4 separate regions of the Homo sapiens genome follow, and all the other regions are linked to region 1. The links are contacts of gene promoters, found by promoter capture Hi-C in human tissues and cell types (Jung and others, 2019). All regions are on one chromosome and are shown on one strand. The core of a region is centred on a gene start or on the middle of the fragment in contact, and the rest is flanking DNA. Distances in the headings are between cores, read along the strand shown.

Region 1 (3,106 bases), core at 194-2,693:
TCTCCCTGGAGGGGCCGCGGGTCTCTCTAACGCCCCAGTGGGGGACCTGGCCCAAGTTCCTTTCCCCGGTGATAAGCCCTGACCCCCATTCCCGGGCCTGCCTAATTCAGGGCGCTCTCGGCTCGCCTTCCCCCGGCGACTTCCTTCTCCTGCAGCCTTCGGGTTAATCATTAGATCTCAGTCTCACACCTCCAACTGCCCCTTCCCGTTAAGAGAGGAAGAGAAGGCAAGGCCTGCGCATGGCCATTTTAATAATTCGCTGCCCGTCTCATGCCTGGGGGTCCGGGCGAGTCCTCGCAGGCCCCGGGCAGAGCCGAGGCGGCTTCGCAGCTCTTCCCCCGCTCGCTGGGAGCCAAGCGCAGAGAGGGGCAGGCGGTGCCGGTGGAGGATGCGCGAGGCCCTCCCGCCACGCGCATCCACGGGGGCCGCAGGGTACTCACAGTTGAAGTCGGGCATCTTAGGCAGGATCATGCCCGCGGTGGACGCGCGCAGCCACTGGTCCAGCTGGAAGGTGCCGGCGCCCAGCTTGATGGGGTCGGCGGGGTGCGCGGGGTGCGCGCCTTGCACCTGCGGGTACGAGTAGGAGAGCGCCGGGTGCTGGCCCGCCAGCGCAGCCGCCGCCGCCGCCGCGGAGTAGCCGTAGACCGGGTGGCCGTAGAGCGCCGCCTGCGCCGGGAGGCCCGCGCCGCCCTGCGCGCCCCCAGGGTGCAGCCCCAGCGCCAGGCCCCCAGCGGCGGCGGCGGCGGCGGCGGCGGCGGCAGCGGCCGCTGCGCCCGGATGCGCGTGGTGGTGGGGCCCCCCGTGCCCGCCGCCCGTGCCGCCGCCGCCGCCGCCCGCGCCCAGGAAGCCCGGCTTGGGCAGCAGCGCGCAGTGCGCGGCCAGCAGGCGCGGCGGCGACGGGCTCTCGGCGCGCAGGCGGTCGGCGGGCGCAGCCGGCGGCTCCGAGGACGCGGGGCTGCAGCTGCCGCTAGTCCCGCCGCTCGCCCCGCCGCCGCCGCCGCCACCTCCGGTGCCAGATGCGGCGGCGGCGAGCGACGTGACCAAGGCCAGCGGCGCGCTCTGCGCAGAGGCGGCTCGTGGGGGGTCCACCGCCAGCAGGGCGTCGATGCGGAAATTTTTGGATTTTTCCATCGGCTCGTTTGGGGCTGGCGCTCAGGGCCCGGTGGCGGGCGACGCGGCCGTGTGCGGGCTCGCGGAGTCAGTGCGTGCGGTGCAAGCCCGGGGGCTCGGTATTGTTATGGTGGTTATTTGCCAATAATCAAAGTCGCCGCCGGAAACTCAGCCGAGGGTGACCATGGTCCCGGCGCCTCCTCCGTGCGGGCCCCGCCCCGGGCCGCGCTCGCACAAACTCCCACGCGAGTGCTTCCCCGCGTCCGGGCCCGGGAGCCCGGTTCTTTGCGCTGCAGCCCTCAGGCGACCGCGCGGAGGCCGCTGCCGCCGTGGTGGGGACCCGCGCCCCTCCGCGCACTTGAAGCTCAGCGCGGCTTCCGATTGGCGCGCGCAGCGGGGGCCCGGGGAGGGCCGCGGGCTCCGCCATTGGCCGAGGGGCGCACCTGTCACCGTCCCGGCCGCCCGCCGCCCCGCCCCCGCGCCGCGAGGTCCTAAGCAGCCCGGGCTGTTGCGCGGCGCTGGCGGGCGGGGACACCAACGGGGAGTGGATACTCCGAGGCTCAACCTGGGGCCTCTGCCCGCCCTCCCCTGGGTGCGGAGCCGGACGGCGGGCACTGGCAACCCCCGGGCCCCTGGAGAGCCCCGCGGCGGCCCAAGACCCGCTCCCGAGACACGTGGGCCCCTCCGGACTTGGTTGGTCCCTGGAGCCAGCTGCGCGCGTCCTCTCCGGCCTCCTTGTCGGCGCTGGAGTGGGTCCACGTCTGCCTTGCGGAGCGCGGTGGTTCCACGCTCCTGAGCGCCCACGCTGCGCAGACCTGGCCGCTCTGCGAGGCGACGGCAGCGCACTGAAGACCGTGGTGTTTCCCAAGCCCTCCCTGCTCTCGGGCCTCCAGGGCGCAGCAGGGGAGGGTTTTGTCCCCGTGGCCAAAGCTCTGCAGGTCGAACCTTATCTGCTATGGGAAGGCCCCGCATTTTCAGGTGTGTGTGCGGGGGTGTGGGGGTGTAAACGCGCATGTGAGTGTGAGTTTGGCCTCCACGAATCCTCTCTGGGAGCCCCTGCCCCAGTCAAGGCGGAGACGGTAGATCTGGGCGCTCTGGCCTGCAGAACCCAAGTCGGCTTGCAGACGTCGCCCACGTGCCTGCTCAGTGGAGCGGGTCCTCGGTGACAAGGCTCTTCCTCGCTGCCGAGGGATGCCCATGGGCTTGCGGGAGTCAAGGCCCACACACCTCGGCCCTGAAAAACCCGTGGGGCCCGGCATCCTTCGGAAGCCCTGCCGCTGCGACCCCCGGCCAGTCCCCGGGCAGGAGCGGGGAAAGGCTATGTCTCTCGTGCTGCCGGGGCCTCCTGGGAAGTGGAGAGGAAAGGGCTTCCCGTGAGTGAGCGAGGCACGGAGTGAGCATCCAGGTCTCACCCCTCCCCCACACGCACACTTCAAATATTTACAGTAAAACCACTTCCAAGGGCGTTTTTGAAGCTGAAAGAATCCACACAGGGGTCGGGAAGTCAAGCGGCATCAACACCAGGCTTTGTCAATAGCGCCATTAGACCCAGTTATCTTCCCCAGCAAGCGTGAGAACTGGGAGGGAGTTCCAGGTTCCAGGGCTTGCTATGCAGGTGAGAGGTGAATAAAGGACCGGAAGGGGCTGTGGAGAGGGGAGAGAGCCAAAGAGAAACTCAGTGCCAGGTAAACTTCAAAATTAGCACGCCAGGTTGCTACAAGAGGGATTTTTAAAAAGGCAAATATAGAGACCTTGCCACTTCTCCTCAAAAGGCTTTTGACCTAGGCGAGAGTTGATGACAGTGACTCTGTTGCCATGAGTGGTATCGTTTTCATTATAACACAGGGTAGTTCCCAGATGCACAGGACTGGTTGGAAGGTTAGGAGGATGGCAATGGATGAGTAACTGCAACTTGGAGTAAATGTGATCTGGCTTTGCAGAGCCGACCACTGGTAAAAAGAAATCCCAGGCATTCACATGGAGTTTGTCGTGCCTT
Region 2 (3,106 bases), core at 312-2,811, 200 kb after region 1:
CACTCCAGCCTGGGCGGTAGGGTGACTCTCTCTCCAAAAAAAAAGAGGGTGAAAATTTACCTTTTTTTTGTTGGTGGTGGTGATTGTTTTAGGTTTGAAATCAAGTTGTTGTAAGACCTTTTGAGTTTAGAATTGTTTAAAGACCTTTTTTTTTTTAAAGGATTTCTGTTCTTTGGTCACCTGTCCCCCAAACCATTTTATGCTACCTGCTATTGAGCTGAGCCCCCAAAATAAAAATCACTGCATAATTTTTGAGTAATCAGCTGCTGTTAGCTGTTCTTTTAAGAAAATACTATCTCTATTATGAAGTTGTATGAACTTACACCTCTGTAGTTAACTGTGTTTTAGGCAGTATTCTAAGAGTTTTGCATATATTCATTTAATACAATAGTTCTGTGAGAAAGATACTATAATTTGTTTTACAGATGAGGTCATGTATATGATGGTAGAACCAGCTGCTATTCTACACTCCCCTTCTGAAAAGAATACAAATTGTATCAGCATTTTTCATATTATTGTTGTGCCAAATTTGAGTTGAAGAATTCGAGGTAGAATCAACCAAAGAACGCAGAAGCGTTTAGCCCATGATCTCCTGCCTTCCATTGATTTTGACAGAATTGCAAACGATGAGACCTGACTCCTTCAACACCGACCATTTTCATTTTTCAGTCCTATCATGGTCCTCCCAAAGTCATTTGTGTGAGAGGCTCTGCTGGCTGGTCACAGAGCATAGAATTTTAAGTGGATAGAGTCATCTTTCTTTGTCACTGTAAGAATTGAGGTCACTTTCTAAGCCCTGTCTTGACACTGCTAAAACAGTTTATGCATTTATCAAATTTATAAACTCCTCTTGAAGTGTAATTTAGAGCTATAATTACTTTAGCTTGATGAGATAGGAAATCCTGTTTTGAGATGTCTGTGTGCATCCACCAAACTTAACAGGAGTTTCCTCCTGTGATAGGGAAACAGGAGGAAGTGGCAGGGAATGAGGAGGAAGGTTCCCATGCCCTCATTATCCATATGTCTGGAGAGAGAGAGAGAGAGAGAGAGAGAGCCATACTATGAGTGATTTTTTTACTTCCTTAGTGGTTAAGTTGTATTTTTTCAGTTCCAAAAAGCTATTTTTAAAAAGTAATAAAGCAACAGCAGTGCCCTGTTAATATAATCCTAACATGCGACCATTTGACTATGTTACAACCAAGAGATCCAAAGCTTGTAGCGCTGTGCCTTATCCTTTTCTGTTATTGAAGATTTTGATTGATTTTGTTTTTGTTTTTTGACTACTAAAGTGGATGCTATATGCAGTAATTTTATAGTGTTTTAAATATGTGCTGAAGAATACTGTTTTTCAAAATACTCCAGTTTTTAACCCGTTTGTGCCAGAGGTTGCGAATTTTTTGTGTGAAAAATCAGGCCTTGGCAATGACCTTGAGCAGTAGAATATAAATCCCACAAGCTTAGCGTTCCAGTAATGGAACACTAGGCATAAATGGGTTAACAAGTGGTAACTAAGGGCTATATAAAATTTGGTTAACCCTTGACAGCAGCAGTGCATACCAGATACTTCATGACTTTCATAGGTTAGAGTGTTTTATTCTCAGTTATTTGAACACTCACAGTATTCATCCCACCCATAGTGACACAGCTCTATGCTAAGGGATCATAAATGAATTCACACAGGGTGCCTGTTCCTGCAGTATCACCACGTAGTGAAGGAGACATGCATTCAGCTAATGACAGTGGGAAACAGCAAACCACAGAGGCCGGTCCTGTGGAAGCACACAGGAGAGAAGCACCAGCTGCTGCGTCATCTGGCACTTGACTCACTTGAGGAAAACGGTTGTTTTCCAACGAGGTCATGTTCTTAGAGCTTTTTCTGACATGTTACTTTTATATATTCTTCTTATGAAGTCAAATTGTAAAAATCCATTCTCATTTGATGTATTTCCCACATTGCACATTTATTGCACTTCAGAACCTGGAAATTGTATGCTAAGTATGCTTTGTATTTTGCTTTTTAAAGAACTAACTCATCTGGTTTCAGGACTAGATCTACTGTAGAAAGAAAAAAAAAAATTAACTCAGTTGTTTGGTTTTAGTTACCAGATTTTACATATCACATTTAAGATAAAAAAGATACTTTTATTTTATGTTATGATGCAATTTAGTCTTTCAGTTGCCCTTCAAAACTTGGACTATATGTACTTAATTTTTTGGTTGCAATACTATATCTAAATATCCGTCATCTCCATACAGAAATGTCACAATTTAGGATTAATAGCCTTGTCATCTAATTTATATATACATTTGTGATAATATAGCTAGTGCGTAAGAATATTTCCCCAAGGTCAGTTAAGCAAGATTTTCTTATGATCATCATTGCCATGAACTCTCAAACATAGCGATCTTGTGAAAACAGTGCCTGTTAATTTACAATGTTTACCTTGAACAGTTGTCAAGTGTGATTTTTATAAGGAGTTGGTATGTTTCTAAGCAGTTATCTACTTGATCTTTTTAATATTGGGGTTAAGGGAAACCTGCTTACAGCATCACCTATTTTTCATTCAAATGGCACATAATAGAGCATGTGTAACAGTTGTGTACCTTTGTGGGGTTTTTTTGTTTTTTGTTTTTCTTTTTGAGACAGGGTTTCGTTCTGTTGCCCAAGCTGGAGTACAGTGGCTCGATCTCACTGCAACCTCCACCCCCCAGGCTCAAGTGATTCTTTCACCTCGGCCTCCTGAGTAGCTGGGACTACAGGCATGTGCCACCACACCCGGCTAATTTTTGTATTTTTTGTAGAGATAGGGTTTCACCATGTTACCCAGGCTGGTCTTGAACTCCTAGGCTCGAGTGATCTGCCTGCCTCGGCCTCCCAAAATGCTAGGATTACAGGTGTGAGCCACCACGCCCGGCAGTGTGTGCATTTCTGAATAAATTTATTAGTACTTGAATAATGTATTAGTTTCTGCATTTATTTAATGTAACGTTTTGATCTGGCGTGGAAGAACATGAGAGGAGGCACAAGAGTTAACACATCAGATGGACATAATGCTATTGTATTTCAGAACTTAAAATCCACTAAAATTTGTATATTCAGCTAGAT
Region 3 (3,106 bases), core at 330-2,829, 170 kb after region 1:
CATCATTCCGGCGCTTGCAGATGCGCAGACCGTTTTCCCTTACGAGCCCTTTCTGAATGCACTGTTGTTAATAGAGAGTAGATGTTCAAGAAAGAGTGGTGGAGCACCCTGGCTTTTCTATTTCGTTTTAACTGTTGGCGAAAATTATTTGGGTATGAAATACAAGATCTTTTTTACCTGAACACACATATGGGTAGCATTGGCAGATGAGTCAAGAGAAGGCCATGCAGTGGCAGGTGTTATGGAAAGGTGGGCCTCTCCTGGAGGAGTGTATTTGCTGGAGGGATGTGGTCTGGGCAGTGTGTTCCTGGGGACAGTTTCCAGATACAGTGGAAAAGACTGACATATATATGTGTCTTATGAGGCCACACAGATTATTTTAATAGAGTTAACAGAGTTAAATGGGAAAGCTCTTCTGTGAGTCAGGCCTGTTTCCCTCCCTCTGCTAAATTTCCAGTGTGCCTCTTCTAGAATAACATCTTCCTGTAGTATGTTTGAAAACATACATACATACATACATGCATGAATTATTCATGAAAGAAATATAGGAAAATGTGAAAACCAAACTTTTGGGGGTTGGGTGCGGGGGGGTATATAGAGTCTCGCTCTGTCACTAGGCTGGAGTGCAGTGGCTCCATCTCAGCTCACTGCAACCTCCGCCTCCCGGGTTCAAGTGATTCTCCTGCCTCAGCCTCCTGAGTAGCTGGGACTACAGGTGCACGCCACCACACCCAGCTAATTTTTGTATTTTTAGTAGAGACGGGGTTTCACTATGTTGGCCAGGATGGTCTCAATCTCTTGACCTCGTGATCCACCCGCCTCGGCTTCCCACAGTGCTGGGATTACAGGCTTGAGCCCCTGTGCCCAGCCCAAACTGTTTTTCTTACTCTCTCACTCAACACTGAAAAATTCTGTGAGCAGAAATGTGGGGTTTTTTTTCCCACACACCAAGCAATTCTTCAGTGGACACCAACTAGGTATTCTACAATTCAGTTCAATTCTGATGCCGTCCACCCGGAGATAATGTCAGATCCCATCATCTGAGGGCTTAGTCCTGCAAGACTACACCCACTTCAGAGGCCGATTACAAGTAGTAGGTTGTCACCTATACTTCTGACCAACCTGCAAAAATGGGGGTTCCTCAGCCCCTCCTTGGGATTGGTAATTGACTAAGACAGTTCACAGAACTCGGGAAGTCGAGGTGTGCGGGAATGGGGAGCTTCCATGCCTTCTCCAGGCACTCCACACTCTCGGCACCTCCCTGTGTTGAGCTCATTGTGTCTTCCTGTTGAGTTTTATGGTGCTTCTTCTCCAGTGTCCCTCCCACAGACAGCCCCTTGGAAGTTGGTGCGTGGGGCTGAAAGTTCCAACCCTCTGATCACTTGGTTTTTCTGGTGAAAAGCCCCATTCTGAGTCCCCTAGATGGCCTCACCATAAGTCACCTCAAGTATGATCACAAAGGGCTGGCTATGAATAACAAGAGACTCTTTATCTTTCAAGAAATTACAAGAGTTGTAGGTGCTTTCTGACATGAACGGGGACAAAATCTAAATATGTTTCCTATTATAACACAGTTAGAATTTTAAAAATAAGATCTGGTCAGAAATGCCTCTCTGCGTGTGAGGAAAAATGGCGTCTTCGTTTTCCATTTTAAAAAATAATGTTTAACTAAAATACGTTTTAACTGATTGTTTTGCAAAGGGGCCCTCTCTGAGGAAGGGCTGCTGGTGTATTTGCGGGTGCTGCAGACCTTCCTCTCTCAGTTACCAGTCTCTCCTGCCAGCGCGAGCTGTCACGACTCAGCCAGTGACTCTGAGGAGGAGAGTGAAGAAGCCGACAAGCCCTCAAGCCCGGTAAGCCCCGTGCCCTGCATCTGGGGGGCTGCGATGCAGGCAGCCCCGTCGGATCTTCTAGCTTTCTGTCCACCCGTAGTTTCAGTTACACAAGTCAGACCCTCAAGCAGCCTTTGCAGAGAAGCCCCGTCAGCCCCACTACCACAGTTTCTAGTGATGGGAAAGTCTCTCCCACCGCTTTGTTAGCACGTTCATGGAAGTGTAAATGGAGACACATAGCTTTGTGTTTGGTTTTTTAGGCAAAATAGGATCATACTATATGTTAACTTAGTTATTAGGAAATATTTTCTGGAAGTGAAATTGTTGGGTCAAAAAGATCCTTTTTACCCTATCCTGTGAACACCGGGTAGTGTCTTCCATTAATTCCTGCTGATTTTATAGAGGATAAATGTTATTTACTTAAAAATTACTTTCAAGTTCTTATCTCTTTTCTTCCTTACTATTGAGTTTACAGTATATTTTCAGGGAATAAAAAACTTTAAAATTATATATACATGCATACATAATTTGTGTTTTACTTAAAGAATTTAACCGCCAATGACTTTTTTTGGTCTTAAGCAATTGAAATGGCTTGAGGTATGGCTATCATAAGTTGTTATTTTTTCATTAAGGAGTTTTATATTGATTACTACTAAGTGTAATCACAGAATATACTTGAGAGGGTCTCAGGGCTTCCAGGTGAAGTAAATTTTTAGAATATTGTGAAGTGGGTGTGTCAGTGCAGTGCTGCACCTTCCTGGACAAAGAGCTTCACTAGTATCGAATGAAAGAGATCACAGCAATAAGAAAAGGATCGATAAGTCAGCTCAGGGCTTGATTTTTTTTAAAAAATAAGAGAAGACAAAGAAAGGAACAGAAGATATTCACTGCCAGGGCTCATGGCTGAGGGGTGGGCTGATGACAAAGGAGTGAAGCCGTTTTTATAGTGGACAGTGGATGCTGGAACTGTTGCATCTGTCCAAACTGTACACCAACAAGTATTCATTTTTTTGTATGTTTATAAAAAAGAGTGGGTTCTGTAGATGGAATGTAGATAAATTTTTGTTTTTGGAAGAAAGTTATTAAATAGTCACCTCCCATAGAATTTGTGAAATTAAACCCTTATTTATATGCAGTGTATTTTGTATTCATGTGAAGATGAGGCTGTGGGCTTTCTCAGCGAGAGAGAGGACAGGTTTTTCCTCGCTGTGGGTGTGCAAACACGATGAAAGCAGAACATGCGGACCCGTGAACCGGGAAATCACCTGCAGGCT
Region 4 (3,106 bases), core at 420-2,919, 140 kb after region 1:
CCATAAGAGTCAGTTTGTTGATATTCACAAAAAAAACCTGTGGAATTTTGATTGGGATTGTGCTGAATTGGTAGATCAAGTTGGGAAAAACTAAAATCTTGACAGTGTTGAGCCTTCCTATCCATGAATATGGAATATCTCTTAATTTGTTTAGTTCTTTTATTTCTTTCATTGGTTATATAATTTTCCTTATATATACCTTATACCTATTTTGTTAGATTTATACCTAAGCGTTTATTTTTAAGGGGTGCTAATGTGAATGGTATTGTGTTTCAGTTTCAAATTCCAGTTCATTGCTTATTTGTAGAGAAGCAATTGACTTTCATGTACTAACCTTATGTCCTGAAATCTTGCTATAATCACTTCTTAGTTCCAGGAGTGGTTTTTTGGTTGATACTTGGAATTTCCTGCACAGATAATCATTTCATTTGCAACCAAAGACAGTTTTATTTCTTCCTTCCTGATCTGTATGCCTTTTTTTTCTTTTTTCTTTTCTAAGACCATCAGAAAGCAATGTGTTTTATTGTCTTACTGCATTAGGTAGGATTATAGTTGAAAAGGAGTGGTGAGAACTTGCCTTGTTCTTAATCTTAGTGGGAAAGCTTTGAGTTTCTCATCATGAAGTATGATGTTTGGTGGGTTTTTTGGTAGATATTCTTTATCAAATTGGGGAAATTCCCCTCTATTCCTAGTTTGCAGAATTTTATCATGAATGAAGGTTGGGTTTTGTCAGATGCTTTTTCTGTATCTGTTAATGTTATGTGATTTTCCTTCTGCAGCTTGTGGATATGATGGATCACATTAAGTCATTTTAGAATATTGAGCCCGTCTTGCGTATCTGGAATAAATCCCACTTGACTGTGATGCATAATTCTTTGTATACGATGTTAGATTGAGCTTGTTGATATTTTGTTCAGGATTTTTGCATCTCTTTTGATGAGGGACATCAATTTAGGGTGTTTTTGTGATGTCTTTGTCTGGTTTGGTATTAGGGTGATACTGGCCTTATGGAATGAGGATACTCTAGGGCCTACCAAAACCAATTACTATAGTTTTTTTGTTTTATTTTGTTTTTTTGAGACAGAGTCTCCCTCTGTCGCCTAGGCTGGAGTGCCTGGAGTACAGTGGTGCGATCTCACTGCCACCTCCATCTCCCGAATTCAAGTGATTCTCCTGTCTCAGCCTCCCAAGTAGCTGGGCTTACAGGCGCCCACCACCAGGCCTGGCTAATTTTTTTGTATTTTTAGTAGAGATGGGGTTTCGCCATGTTGTCCATACTGGCCTTGAACTCCTGGCCTCAAGTGATCTGCCCACCTCAGCTTCCCAATGTGCTGGGATTACAGGTGTGAGCCACCATGCTTGGCCTCAATTACTCTAGTTTTAATTCCTCCCCTATGATAGGTCTAGACTGTTAAGATGGTAAGAACTTGATTGCTTAGTTTTGTAAAACTGCCCTCTATTATATAATTGAAGGGATTACCTAGTTTTGTAAAACTGCCCTCTATTATATAATTGAAGGGATTACCTAGAATATTTTAACTTAAAATGTTTTGTGCTATTTTGTTTTAAAAAGCAGAGGTGTAATGGATGTGATAGTATAATGCTCCATATACATTGTAGTGGAACATAAAAACTTTTTCTTACAGATCTGGCATCAAATAAAGTCAAAATATTTTCTAAGATCAAATTAGTTCTTTTTTTTTTTTTTTTTTCCTTTAAGAGACAGGGCCTCACTGTGTCGCCCAGGCTGGAGTGCAGTAGCTATTCACAGGCATGATCATAGTGCACAGCAGCCTCAAACTCCTGATCTCCAGCGATTCTCCTGCCTCAGCCTCCTGAGGAGCTGGAACTCCAGGCTTGCCACTACCCAACCCCAGCCTGGCTCTGAAAATGTTAATTGACTGTCAGGACTGGTATTATTTAGCAACACTGCATTTGTTCCTTCGAATACAGTTATGCTGTATCCTTTACATGTAGGAGCAAAAGACTGTAGTTCCCTGCTATAGATAAGGTTAAGAATTCTTTTTTTGTTTTTTGAGATAGAGTTTTGCTCTTGTCGCCCAGGCTGGAGTGCAATGGCTCAATCTCGGCTCACTGCAACCTCCGCCTGCCAGGTTCAAGCAATTCTCCTGCCTCTGCCTCCGGAGTAGCTGGGATTACAGGTGCCTGCCACCACACCCAGCTAATTTTTCTATTTTTAGTAGAGATGGGTTTCACCATCTTGGTCAGGCTGGTCTCGAATTCCTGACCTCAGGTGATCCACCCACCTCAGCCTCCCAAAGTGCTGGGATTACAGGCGTGAGCCACTATGCCTGGCCAGGAATTCAACCGATTTTTAAAAATAGAAACCAAGCGGAATGGAAGGAGTGAGACTTGAGACTAATTGTCTCATTGTCTCATTTTCTTTGGACATTAAATCTGGGCCTACAGGGAGGTGAGTAAAGCACCATACAGTATTTAAGGAGGCACTTACTCTCAGGTTCATGCACAGGCGGACCCTGCACTGGCACATCCCTGAGAGTGAGTGCCTCCTTAAATTTGTGCCTTAAGCATCTGGCTTGCCTCATGATATCCCCTACTTGGCTTTAACCACTTGAATGTGTGCTGATTTTCTTGAGTTACAGTGTGAATTGCCAGCTAGGGTCCTTAAAAGGTTGAAAAAATAGATGGTCTCATAAGACCATAGAATAGCCTCAAAAGAAGTTCTTGCAAAAGCTGTAAGGAGCTTCACTCTGTGACTTTTCTTTAATTCTTCTATTATAGAATGTAGGCACCTAGGAATTTGGAAGTGGGGCATCTTATTCTTTGACTGTGACCCCTGTTTTTTACTGCCTTTAAAGCAGCTGCTTTCTGCATGTCCTTGTTCTCCTGTCTCAGGCCTCCAAATGCCGCCCTTTACCATTTGTCAGCATGAAGGAGAAGCCATGCTTTCCATAGCCCATCACCTTCGATGGTGGTCAAATTACAGGCTGTAATACCTGCTGTTGCTGAGGGCATACAGACACTGGGCACAACCTACCTAGGGTTGGTTATAACAGATTTATCAAGAGTCTAACAAGGCCAGGCATGGTGGCTCACACCTGTAATCCTAGCACTTTTGGAGGTG

What was found. Contacts are between HindIII fragments. The study calls those that stand out against the background at their distance.
Region 2: a contact is called between a fragment that was not itself captured here and the fragment with the promoter of MNX1 in region 1, in 2 of the 25 tissues and cell types used here (H1 embryonic stem cells and adrenal gland).
Region 3: a contact is called between a fragment that was not itself captured here and the fragment with the promoter of MNX1 in region 1, in 2 of the 25 tissues and cell types used here (dorsolateral prefrontal cortex and neural progenitor cells).
Region 4: a fragment that was not itself captured here is called in contact with the fragment with the promoter of MNX1 in region 1 in 2 of the 25 tissues and cell types used here (H1 embryonic stem cells and pancreas).

Annotation. Positions count from the first base shown.
Region 1 is chr7:157,009,220-157,012,325 of GRCh38, forward strand. MNX1 (motor neuron and pancreas homeobox 1) reads right to left here and starts at 1,444. Exons shown (of 3, transcript NM_005515.4): 1 at 441-1,444. The coding sequence starts at 1,131. It overlaps MNX1-AS1 (MNX1 antisense RNA 1 (head to head)), which reads left to right and starts at 1,638. Exons shown (of 2, transcript NR_038835.1): 1 at 1,638-2,088. RefSeq lists silencers at 606-655, 666-735, 1,246-1,855. The HindIII fragment of the contact is 12,613 bases long and covers 1-3,106 here.
Region 2 is chr7:157,210,141-157,213,246 of GRCh38, forward strand. The region is part of intron 13 of UBE3C (ubiquitin protein ligase E3C); the gene reads left to right. Among named protein-coding and RNA genes, the nearest start is that of UBE3C, 73 kb to the left of the region's middle. The HindIII fragment of the contact is 4,795 bases long and covers 1-3,106 here.
Region 3 is chr7:157,182,177-157,185,282 of GRCh38, forward strand. It overlaps UBE3C (ubiquitin protein ligase E3C), which reads left to right. Exons shown (of 23, transcript NM_014671.3): 8 at 1-152; 9 at 1,702-1,853. Among named protein-coding and RNA genes, the nearest start is that of UBE3C, 45 kb to the left of the region's middle. The HindIII fragment of the contact is 6,873 bases long and covers 1-3,106 here.
Region 4 is chr7:157,147,038-157,150,143 of GRCh38, forward strand. The region is part of intron 1 of UBE3C (ubiquitin protein ligase E3C); the gene reads left to right. Among named protein-coding and RNA genes, the nearest start is that of UBE3C, 9.7 kb to the left of the region's middle. The HindIII fragment of the contact is 9,344 bases long and covers 1-3,106 here.